3 separate regions of the Homo sapiens genome follow, and all the other regions are linked to region 1. The links are contacts of gene promoters, found by promoter capture Hi-C in blood cells and fetal thymus (Javierre and others, 2016). All regions are on one chromosome and are shown on one strand. The core of a region is centred on a gene start or on the middle of the fragment in contact, and the rest is flanking DNA. Distances in the headings are between cores, read along the strand shown.

Region 1 (3,204 bases), core at 451-2,950:
TCCCAACATTTTGGGAGGCTAAGGTGGGAGGATCACTTGGGCCCAGGAATTTGAAACCAGCCTGGACAACATAGCAAGACCTTTTCTCTACTAAAACTTTAAAAAAAAATAAACTGAGTGTGAGTCTGTAGTCCCAGCTAGTTGGGAGGCTGAGGCAGGAGGATGGCTTGAGCCTGGGAGACCAAGGTTTACAGTGAGCTATGATCATACCACTGCACTCCAGCCTGAGCAGAAGAATGAGATTCTGTCTCAAAACAAAACGAAAACAAAAACAAAGAAAACAAATCTAATCTAATACACTCTTGGGTATGCCTTTTTCAGAGACACGTTTCACAACCTGTGAGCCCACACTCTTGCCCAGGAACAGCTCTGAACAGAAAGAGAAACAATAAAAGCAAACAGACTAGTGACCTGACAACAACCACTCTGTCCTCTCCTCCTCATTCTTTTGGTTTCCCAGATAAGGAAAACCACAAGAACACAGTTGATCTATACATGCACATCATATGCAGATTTTGCAAGCAGTCTCCAGTTTAAAAATTGTTTTTAAAAGTGTTTATATGTGTATTTAGGGTTTGGGGCACGTTTTCTCTTTTAAAAATGCCACAAATAGGACGGGCGCGGTGGCTCACGCCTGTAATCCCAGCACTTTGGGAGGCCAAGGCGGGCGGATCACGAGGTCAGGAGATCGAGACAATCCTGGCTAACACGGTGAAACCCCGCCTCTACTGAAAATACAAAAAATTAGCCGGGCGTGGTGGCGGGCGCCTGTAGTCCCAGCTACTCGGGAGGCTGAGGCAGGAGAATCGCGTGAACCCGGGAGGCGGAGCTTGCAGTGAGCGGAGATAGCGACACTGCACTTCAGCCTGGGGGAAAGAGCAAGACTCCGTCTCAAAAAAAAAAAAAAAAAAAAAAAAAAAAAAAAAGCCACAAATAGAATGTAGGTTGCCGGGCAACTCTATAACATATCAGAAGTATAGTATTTGTTATCTCACTACATTTGGCCACAATTCTGATTAGTATCATAATTAGTATTAGATGGCACATCACCACCGTAACACCCACTGGCAGTTGGCTGAGGCCTAAAAGTGGCCAAGTCTATGAGGTCCTTCCCGAGCTCGGCAGCAGGCTGATAATGAAGAAAGTTGCTTGATGTGATTCTTTGCAGGTGGACTCTGTCAAGAAAAGCCCAAAATATTCGTTACCAGACACGCAACCAGGAGATGAACACAAAGCAAGGATGGGGGAAACAAAACAGAGGAGGTAGGGTTGCCAAGGTGTGCTGGGTGCAGACAACGGAGAGGAGGTGGGTGGGTGCGCCGTCCTATGGGGAAGAATGAAGGGGAGAGGGTGTACTGGGGGCACAGGGCTTTGAGAAACTGGGAGCAACAAAGACGTGAATGGACTTGGGTAGGTCTGTAAGGGGTTCTTAGAGGCTGTGAGTGGATGGGGGTACGGATAGTGAAAGAAGTGGGGAGCCCGGAGAAGTGGTCGGGATTGTAAGCAGAAAGTGGGGACCTCAGAACACCGAGCTCAGGTTGGAATGATCTAAGGACACAAAAGCATGGGGCCTCGGGGCTGGGGCGGTGCGACTACCGGAGGCGCAAGTTGCGCACGGGGTCCCGGGAGCGATACACTGCCTCCCCGGTGTCAGTGCTCCAGACGGTCTCCGCCATGACAGCTGCGACGCGCCGCGACTGCGCCGGAAAGCGCGCCGCTCTGTTTTCCTGGCAACGGAGACGCTGGATCGGGAGGCGACGGAGGTGCTGCGCGCGCAACCCGCCGTTCCCGTCACGGCGCCACGGTCGCAGTTGGCCACACAGTGCAAGTGCAGCCCAAGCCGAACGCCCAAGAGGGCTCCGGGGTCCTACCGATCACCGCTTACCATGTATGCGATAAAAGCTCACCGAAAGCGGGACCTCGTGCGCTGTGCAAATGAGGAAACTGGCACAGCCATCAGCCCACTTCATATAGACAGATAGATGCAGAAATGATGACGGGGACCAGGTGGCCTGAGTCTTCGCCCTCTACCTTTTCCACCATGCCACACTGCCTTCCACCCAACGCGTGAAAACTTTGGCCTGAAAATCGGGTGATGTGACTGTAAGAAATGCACCCATTATTCCCAAAGGAGTCAGGGAAGGTGATGGCCCTTAGCCAGACAAGAAAATATATTCTTGGAAGACAAAAAAAGTGTCAGAAGATTTATTAGTCTTTGTGTTGATATTCACTGAGCAAAGAAAGAAAAAACAAGGAAGTCAACAGTAAGGAAGGAAACGATGTTATTATTGAACTGATTCTTACCTTGTGTATGTTAGTTTTGGATCATTAAGCCACTTTGTTACTGCACTGGCTTCCTGAAAAGCCAAAAAAGTGACATTCACAAGTCATGCTTCGTTGTACTAGCAAAGGAAGGACATGCTGTAACCTCACGTCTGGCGTCCCGGCACTTTGGGAATGTCAACATTTATCAGCCTTGTTCACATCTAGTCCTCCTCCAACAAAGTAAGCAATTGTCCCCTGAACTCGGGAATCTCATGCCAGTTTGATGATTTGGCATTGGAAGCTCTGGGTGCCATAGCCACTAGTTGTGTAACACCGACTCACCATAAATAGCACCATTTATTTAGGATCTAGTGCAGCTTGAGCACTTTTGTTTGCATTGTCCCAAATCCTTGTAGAAGCCTCTCAAAAAGGTACTTTTATTCACTTTAAAAATGAAGTTCGTGAAGGCCAGGGTTTAAAGGACTTGCTAGCTTGCAAGTGGTAAAAGTACTGGGATTCTAGCCCAAGTTCTTCTGTCTTTTGAAGCCTAACCACCTTCCAGTTTGCCTCACAGCCTCTCACCTACCAATTTATTCCATAAACGCACACATTTCCAACCTGGGAAATAATAATTTTTTTTTTTTTTTTTTTGAGACGGAGTCTCGCTCTGTCGCCCAGGCTGGAGTGCAGTGGCGGGATCTCGGCTCACTGCAAGCTCCGCCTCCCGGGTTCACGCCATTCTCCTGCCTCAGCCTCCCAAGTAGCCGGGACTACAGGCGCCCGCCACTACGCCCGGCTAATTTTTTGTATTTTTAGTAGAGACGGGGTTTCACCGTTTTAGCCGGGATGGTCTCGATCTCCTGACCTCGTGATCCGCCCGCCTCGGCCTCCCAAAGTGCTGGGATTACAGGCGTGAGCCACCGCGCCCGGCCGGAAATA
Region 2 (3,204 bases), core at 229-2,728, 240 kb after region 1:
ACATTATGTTAAGTGAAATAAGCCAGGCACAGAAAGACAAATACTACATGATCTTACTCATATATGGAAGCTAAAAAAGTTAATTTCATAGAAGAAAGTAGAATAGTAAATACCAGAGGCTGGGGAAAGTAGGAAAGTGGGGATATTGGGAGAAGTTGGTCAAAAGTTGTAGTTAGATAGGAAGAATAAGCTTTGGTATTCTATTACACAGTAGCATAATTGTAGCAAATAACAATGTAGTGTATATTTCAAGACAGCTAGAAGAAAAGGTTTAGAGTGTTATCACCACAAAGAAATGATAAATGTTTAGAGTGATGGATATGGTAATTATCTCAATTTGATCATTACACTACATATACATGTGTCAAAAAATCACATTGTACCTCATAAATATGTACAATTATATTTAAATTATAAATTAAAAATAAAAATGGTTAAAATGATAAATTTTATGTTACATGTTCTTCAACACAATAAAAAATTAAAAGGAAAGAATATGTGCTCTACAGGCAGACAACTTAGGGTAGGATATTAGCAATATTAGTTTATATGTGACTGGCCATGCATGGTGGCTCATGCTCATAATCCCAGCACTTTGAGAGGTCAAGGCAGGAGGACTGCTTGAGCCTAGGAGTGCAAGACCAGCCTGGGCAACATAGTGAGACCCCATCTCTATAAAAAATGAAAAAAGGCAGCTGGGTGCAGTGGCTCATGCCTGCAATCCCAGCACTGTGGGAGGCCGAGGCAGGCAGATCACCTGAGGTCAGGAGTTCAAGACCAGCCTGGCCAACATGGCGGAAACCTTGCCTCTGCTAAAAATACAAAAATTAGCTAGTCGTGGTGGAGTGTGCCTGTAATCCCAGCTACTCAGGAGGCTGAGGCAGGAGAATCACTTAAACCTGGGAGGTGGAAGTTGCAGTGAGCCAAGATCACGCCATTGCACTACAGCCCGGGCAACAGAGCAAGACTCTGTCTCAGAAAAAAAAAATAATAATAATAATAAAGAAAAGGAAAAGGAAAGAAAAGAAAAAAGGGCCAGGCATGGTGGCTCATGCCTGTAATCCCAGCACTTTAGGAGGCCGAGGTGGGTGGATCACTTGAGGCCAGGAGTTCAAGACCAGCCTGGCCAACATGGTGAAACCCCATCTCTACTAAAAATACAAAAATTAGCCGGGTGTGGTGCCACGCACCTGTAGTCCCAGCTACTCGGGAGGCTGAGCCATGAGAATTGCTGGAATCTATGAGGTGGAGGCTGCAGTGAGCCAAGATGCGCCACTGCATTCTAGCCCGGGCAACAGAGAAAGACTCTGTCTCTAAAAAATGAAAAAATAAAACAAATTTATATGTGACTTTGAACAAGTTACTTACTCTAAGCCTAAATTTCCTGATGTTTAAAATGACAATGCCACTTCCAACAGATTTGTCCTATGGCACAAAAATGGATACGGTAAATGTTAGTTCCTGCCTTTCTCTCATCTAAATTGCCTTCAAGGCTCATGCCATTGTGTTAAACACCTTCAGTGGTAAGAAATCTTTAGTCTTTAATTATGGATTGGAAAATATAATCAACTAAAAGTGTGCAAGCTAAATTTAGTGAATAAATGATAGACAGTTTTTAGCCTAAAAGACATTTTGCAGAAAGAACCCTATGAGTCTGAGCTACACCATGATCATATCACTATTAATTTACTTTTTGGAAAAATTCTCACAGAAGTTCTCAACATTTTTCAAATTATTGTAGGTTAAAATGATGGTCTGTCATTTTAACCTACACTGTCATTCTGCCTGCACTGCATGCCCCTGACATGAACATAATTCTAGAATATTAAAATTGTCCACTGCAGACTTTGGTAACTTGATTTTTGGATGATATGAGACACATGTTTTATTAGATGTTACTATTTCTTCAAAAAATATGATTTTGTCTTATTAGAATCAACTGTATGTGCCTAAAACAATCACTTATTCTGGGTTCTTACAAACCACAAGAATAACAAACCATTCATTGGTATAGGGTCATACTTTATAGTATCTTTAAAATGCGCTCAGGATAATATCCTAAATTTCCATCTGATTTTCTCTTGTCACAATATAAATGCATGCCCTCTTGTCCTAGAGTCTGTTAATAACAGAGTAAGTACAACTACAATTTCGAAGTCTGGCATCTGAGGATACTTATTAAATCATCCTTCATCCTTGCCTTCTCCAAGTTAAATAATCTAAATTCCTTTGCTTATTCTTAATATGTTCTATATTTTCAAAGCCCAAATCATTATATGCAATATTAAGAAAATAACTATTACATACTTCACAACAATAATTAAGAACAAATATAGAGTTAAAATTACAGCTATGTAAAAACAGCAATGTGACAGGTCTAATACAATTATGAATAATAAATGGAGACCCAGAAAAAATGTCATTCATATATTAATTCTACAGCGTGATTCTACTTCTGGCATTCTAGAGCACAATAATCCTTACCAGGGGACTTTCCTTGTTGTGAGTTGCTTCTGTGCTCTCTGTATCTGGCTGGAGTGGCTAAACCTGTGTCTTCACTAGGCTTGCTAGCAGGCCCCATTTCTGAAATGAGGAATCCCATCTGTTCTGACGGCAAGATATTCTCACGTGAACTGGTCTGGCATTTTATGTTGGCATCCACCTAAAATATTAAACCCATTCATTATTTGAGATTTCCTCCAAATATCTGCTAAAAGTTAAGATATTTTATCAGAGGAGTTCTATTATGGGAACATGATCCAACAAACAAGCTTATAAGGCTTTTCATTCTTATTATTGATACTATACCTTTCTCCCTACACAAACTATTAAAATGTATATGGAGCTAAAACATTTACTTATGATCAGAGGAATATCTACCATGAAGCTTGTTGATTTTTTTTTAACTTACAAAAGTACAGGTTTTTTTTTTTGTTTTAAGGCAGGGTCTCACATTGTTGTCCAGGCGGGAGTACAGTGGTACAATCATAGCTCACTGTAACCTCGAGCTCATGGGCTCAAGTGATCCTCCTGAGCAGCTAGGACTACAGGTATTAGCTAATTTTTAAAAAGTTTTTTTGTAGGCCGGGCGCGGTAGCTCACAGCTGTAATCCCAGCACTTTGGGAGGCCAAGGTGGGCAGATCATGAGGTCAGGAGTTCTCGACCAGCCTGGCCAGCATGGTGAAACCCTGTCTCTACCAAAA
Region 3 (3,204 bases), core at 451-2,950, 220 kb after region 1:
CAGCATAATACTAAGCCAGTTCTATGATTTATATCATTATAATCCATATTCCTCATTTTGCAGATGAGGACACCAAAGCTCAGTTAGGTAAACACGTCCAAGGTCACACAGTAAAGAGCAGAATCCAGGTTTTAATGCAGGTTTTTCTAACACCAAAAGCTTTCTTTCTAACCATATGCTGTACTGTTTTTAATGAGCAGTATATTAATCTCACACATTGACTTTGGTTAAGGTCTCTTAATGCCATGGGACCTTACATATAGCCATGTTTTCATAGACCAACTGCTAGGCCAAGGTCTATCAGAGCAGAATCATTTGCAACTTCATGAATTGTATTTCTGCCTACACTTTAATTAAAAAACTTTTTTTTTTTTTAGCAGAGAGGTTCTAGCTTAATCATAACTCATTTTCCTCTTGTCCATAATAAAATGAAAATGTGATTAGGTGTCATAATGATGCCAAGATTTCACAACTCTTATGTTTCACAGCAGGAAGCCAACATCAATTAAGACTCATCTATTAACTGCACTGACCAAAGGATAAGGCTTTACTTAGAAAAAAAAAACAACAGGAAGAGTTAATAAAGATAATTACTGTGCTAATTATTTTATCAGTTACACTTATAACCATAACATGTAGTGAAAGAGAGGAAATTATTTTTTTAACAGCAGGCACCAGAGTTCCTCTCAGGGAGGTAATTGTCTTTGTTGAGGAATATGTCTCGATAGATTGTTCTGGTTGGGAAAAATGACGCCTTAAAAACATCAAAAAATAGAAGAGATACCTAACCTTCTTTGCCTAAGTAAAACACAGGAATTCAGCACCTGGGGAAAGAGCAGAAAAAAAAAACCAACCATAACAACAACAACAACAGAAAGCAGAGAAACGAAGGTCTGGTGCTAGTACAAGGAAAGAAAGCAACATGGCAGAGGACCATATTGACTAGTGACAAGGAAAGATGCCGTAAAGTGACTGGGGGCCTTTTAATTCCATTTTTGCGGTATTCTAAATATTTCTGTCGGTATTTCTGCCTCCCGACATCTTCATAAAAGTGTGCTACACATACACATGCCTAGCATAATGCTTAAAGGGAGGAAGAGGTCAAAGAAAGTGGGCCAAGTTCTGCATCTGGTATAGCATGGAACAGACAGATAAGAACAGCCCTGGGAGGTCAGATATGGACAAGTCTGGAATTACATTTAAGCAGAAACTCAAAAATAAAAGCTACTGTGAACCCTAGAAAGTCTCAGAAATCTTAGAAAGGCATTCTTGGTATAGGGTAAGTTTATCTTGAGTCAATCATATCTAAACCTCAAAAGTCAGTTTACTATCTGGGATATAAATATTTTTTAAAAACACTCTGAAATTGTTCATTTCTATTACTTTAAGGCTTTTATATTCCTGCTATAGGAACACTTCAAGTATTTAAACTACTTTTAGTATTTTTAGATTTTTTAAAATTTGAAAAACATAGAAGAATACAGATGGTGAAAATTTCCCGTAATCCTATTATATATACATATACAAATTGAGAAGTTAAGCATACCCCTGCACCCATACATTCTATCTTCTGAGAGATAACTAGTGTTATATTTATCAGCTATATCGTATATCTCCAGACTTTTTTCTATAATTTTACAGCATATACTTTCTTTTCTTTCTTTCTAGAAAGGGGGTTGTGCTAGACATATTGTGTTGCAACTTACCCATTTGCTGAACACATTATGAACACTTACTGTCTTTCCAGGTCACAACACATCAAGCTACTTCAGTTTCTTAAATGGTTGCACAGTATTTTATTATGTAGATGTCATAATGTATCTGGTTCCCCACTGTCAGGCATTTATGCTTTTCTCAAATTTTTGCTATTATAAATAACACTATAGCAAACTTATTTTGAGTACCTTTGGGAATATACACATTTCTACAGGAGAGATTCCCAGGAGTAGAGTTCCTGAGTCAAAACTCATAAGCATTTTAGTTATCTATAAATAATGCCAATTGTCCTTTATAGGGCTATACGAATTTACATTCCAATTACAGCATAGAGAAGGTTCCTTTTCTCTATACCTTTATCAAAGCTGGATATTATCAACAGTTAAAGTTTTGCCAATCAAATTGCCAAAAAAAAAAATAATTGGTTGATTTTGGTCAGTGACAGACCATATAGATGATGATGATTCTGTAAGATTGTACTCTATTTTTACTGTACCATTTCTATGCTTAGCTATGTTTAGATACACAAATACCACTGTATTACAATTGCTTACAATATTCAATACAGTAACATGCTGTAAGGGTTTGTAGCCTAGAAGCAATAGGCTATACTATACAGCCTAGGTATGTAGTAGGCAACATCATCTAGGTTTGTGTAAGTACAATTCACAATGTTTATAAAACAATAACATTAACTAATGACATAGTTCTCAGAATACATTCCTGTCATTAAGGGATACATGATTATATGTGCTACTGGCTTTGCAGTCAGGCAGCACATGGTTAGGACACAGCAAGCTAGAATGTTGGTGATCTTTGTTATCCATGCCAACATATTTGGTAAAATCATTACCTGTGACACCATGGAAGTCAGACCACACATGCCAAGTGAACATACAACCATGGGGGAAAAGATTGACAAAAATCACAAGGTGTTGACTATTTCTTGACACATTCAGCAAAGCCCTAAAAGAAGAGATAAACTCAGGCTAGAGGTACCTAGTGTGCAAGCAGAGATGGAAGGGAATATTTGACTGCCTGTGGTTGACAACTTATTGACTAGAGTTCAGTAACTGGGTCATGAATCCAACTGCTTCAATACCCCAACCTGAAGTTGCACTAAGAAGTGCCTTAAGGCCAGGCATGGTGGCTGACACCTGTAATCCCAGCACTTTGGGAGGCTAAGTTGGGAGGATTGCTTGAGACCAGGAGTTGGAGATCAGCCTGGGCAACACAGTGAGACTCCATCTCTTTGAAAAGTAAAAAAAAATCAGCTAGGTGTGGTGGCATGTGCCTGTAGTCCCAGCTACTTCTTTGGGGGGTTGGGGGTAGGTTGGTTGAGGTGGGAGGATCACTTTAGCCCAGAGATCAAGGCTGCAGTGAGCTATGATCGTGCCAGACTAGGCAACAGAGTGAGACCCTGCCTCAAAAAAAAAATAATAATAAATAAAAAAAATTGGTGGTACATGCTGATTAACATTAAGCTAA

The links. The method cuts DNA at HindIII sites, captures the fragments that hold promoters and counts their contacts. A CHiCAGO score of 5 or more calls a contact.
Region 2: a fragment that was not itself captured here is called in contact with the fragment with the promoter of MKS1 in region 1 in 1 of 17 cell types (M2 macrophages); the score reaches 7.2 in M2 macrophages.
Region 3: a fragment that was not itself captured here is called in contact with the fragment with the promoter of MKS1 in region 1 in 2 of 17 cell types (M2 macrophages and M1 macrophages); the score reaches 8.3 in M2 macrophages.

The regions. Positions count from the first base shown.
Region 1 is chr17:58,217,555-58,220,758 of GRCh38, forward strand. It overlaps MKS1 (MKS transition zone complex subunit 1), which reads right to left and starts at 1,701. Exons shown (of 18, transcript NM_017777.4): 1 at 1,597-1,701; 2 at 1,066-1,175. The coding sequence starts at 1,676. It overlaps LOC105371841 (a long non-coding RNA gene), which reads left to right and starts at 1,760. Exons shown (of 2, transcript XR_934884.4): 1 at 1,760-2,505. RefSeq lists an enhancer at 1,529-1,808. The HindIII fragment of the contact is 11,285 bases long and covers 1-3,204 here.
Region 2 is chr17:58,456,284-58,459,487 of GRCh38, forward strand. It overlaps HSF5 (heat shock transcription factor 5), which reads right to left. Exons shown (of 6, transcript NM_001080439.3): 5 at 2,485-2,662. Among named protein-coding and RNA genes, the nearest start is that of HSF5, 31 kb to the right of the region's middle. The HindIII fragment of the contact is 2,581 bases long and covers 189-2,769 here.
Region 3 is chr17:58,435,984-58,439,187 of GRCh38, forward strand. The region is part of intron 5 of HSF5 (heat shock transcription factor 5); the gene reads right to left. Among named protein-coding and RNA genes, the nearest start is that of RNF43, 20 kb to the left of the region's middle. The HindIII fragment of the contact is 3,086 bases long and covers 158-3,204 here.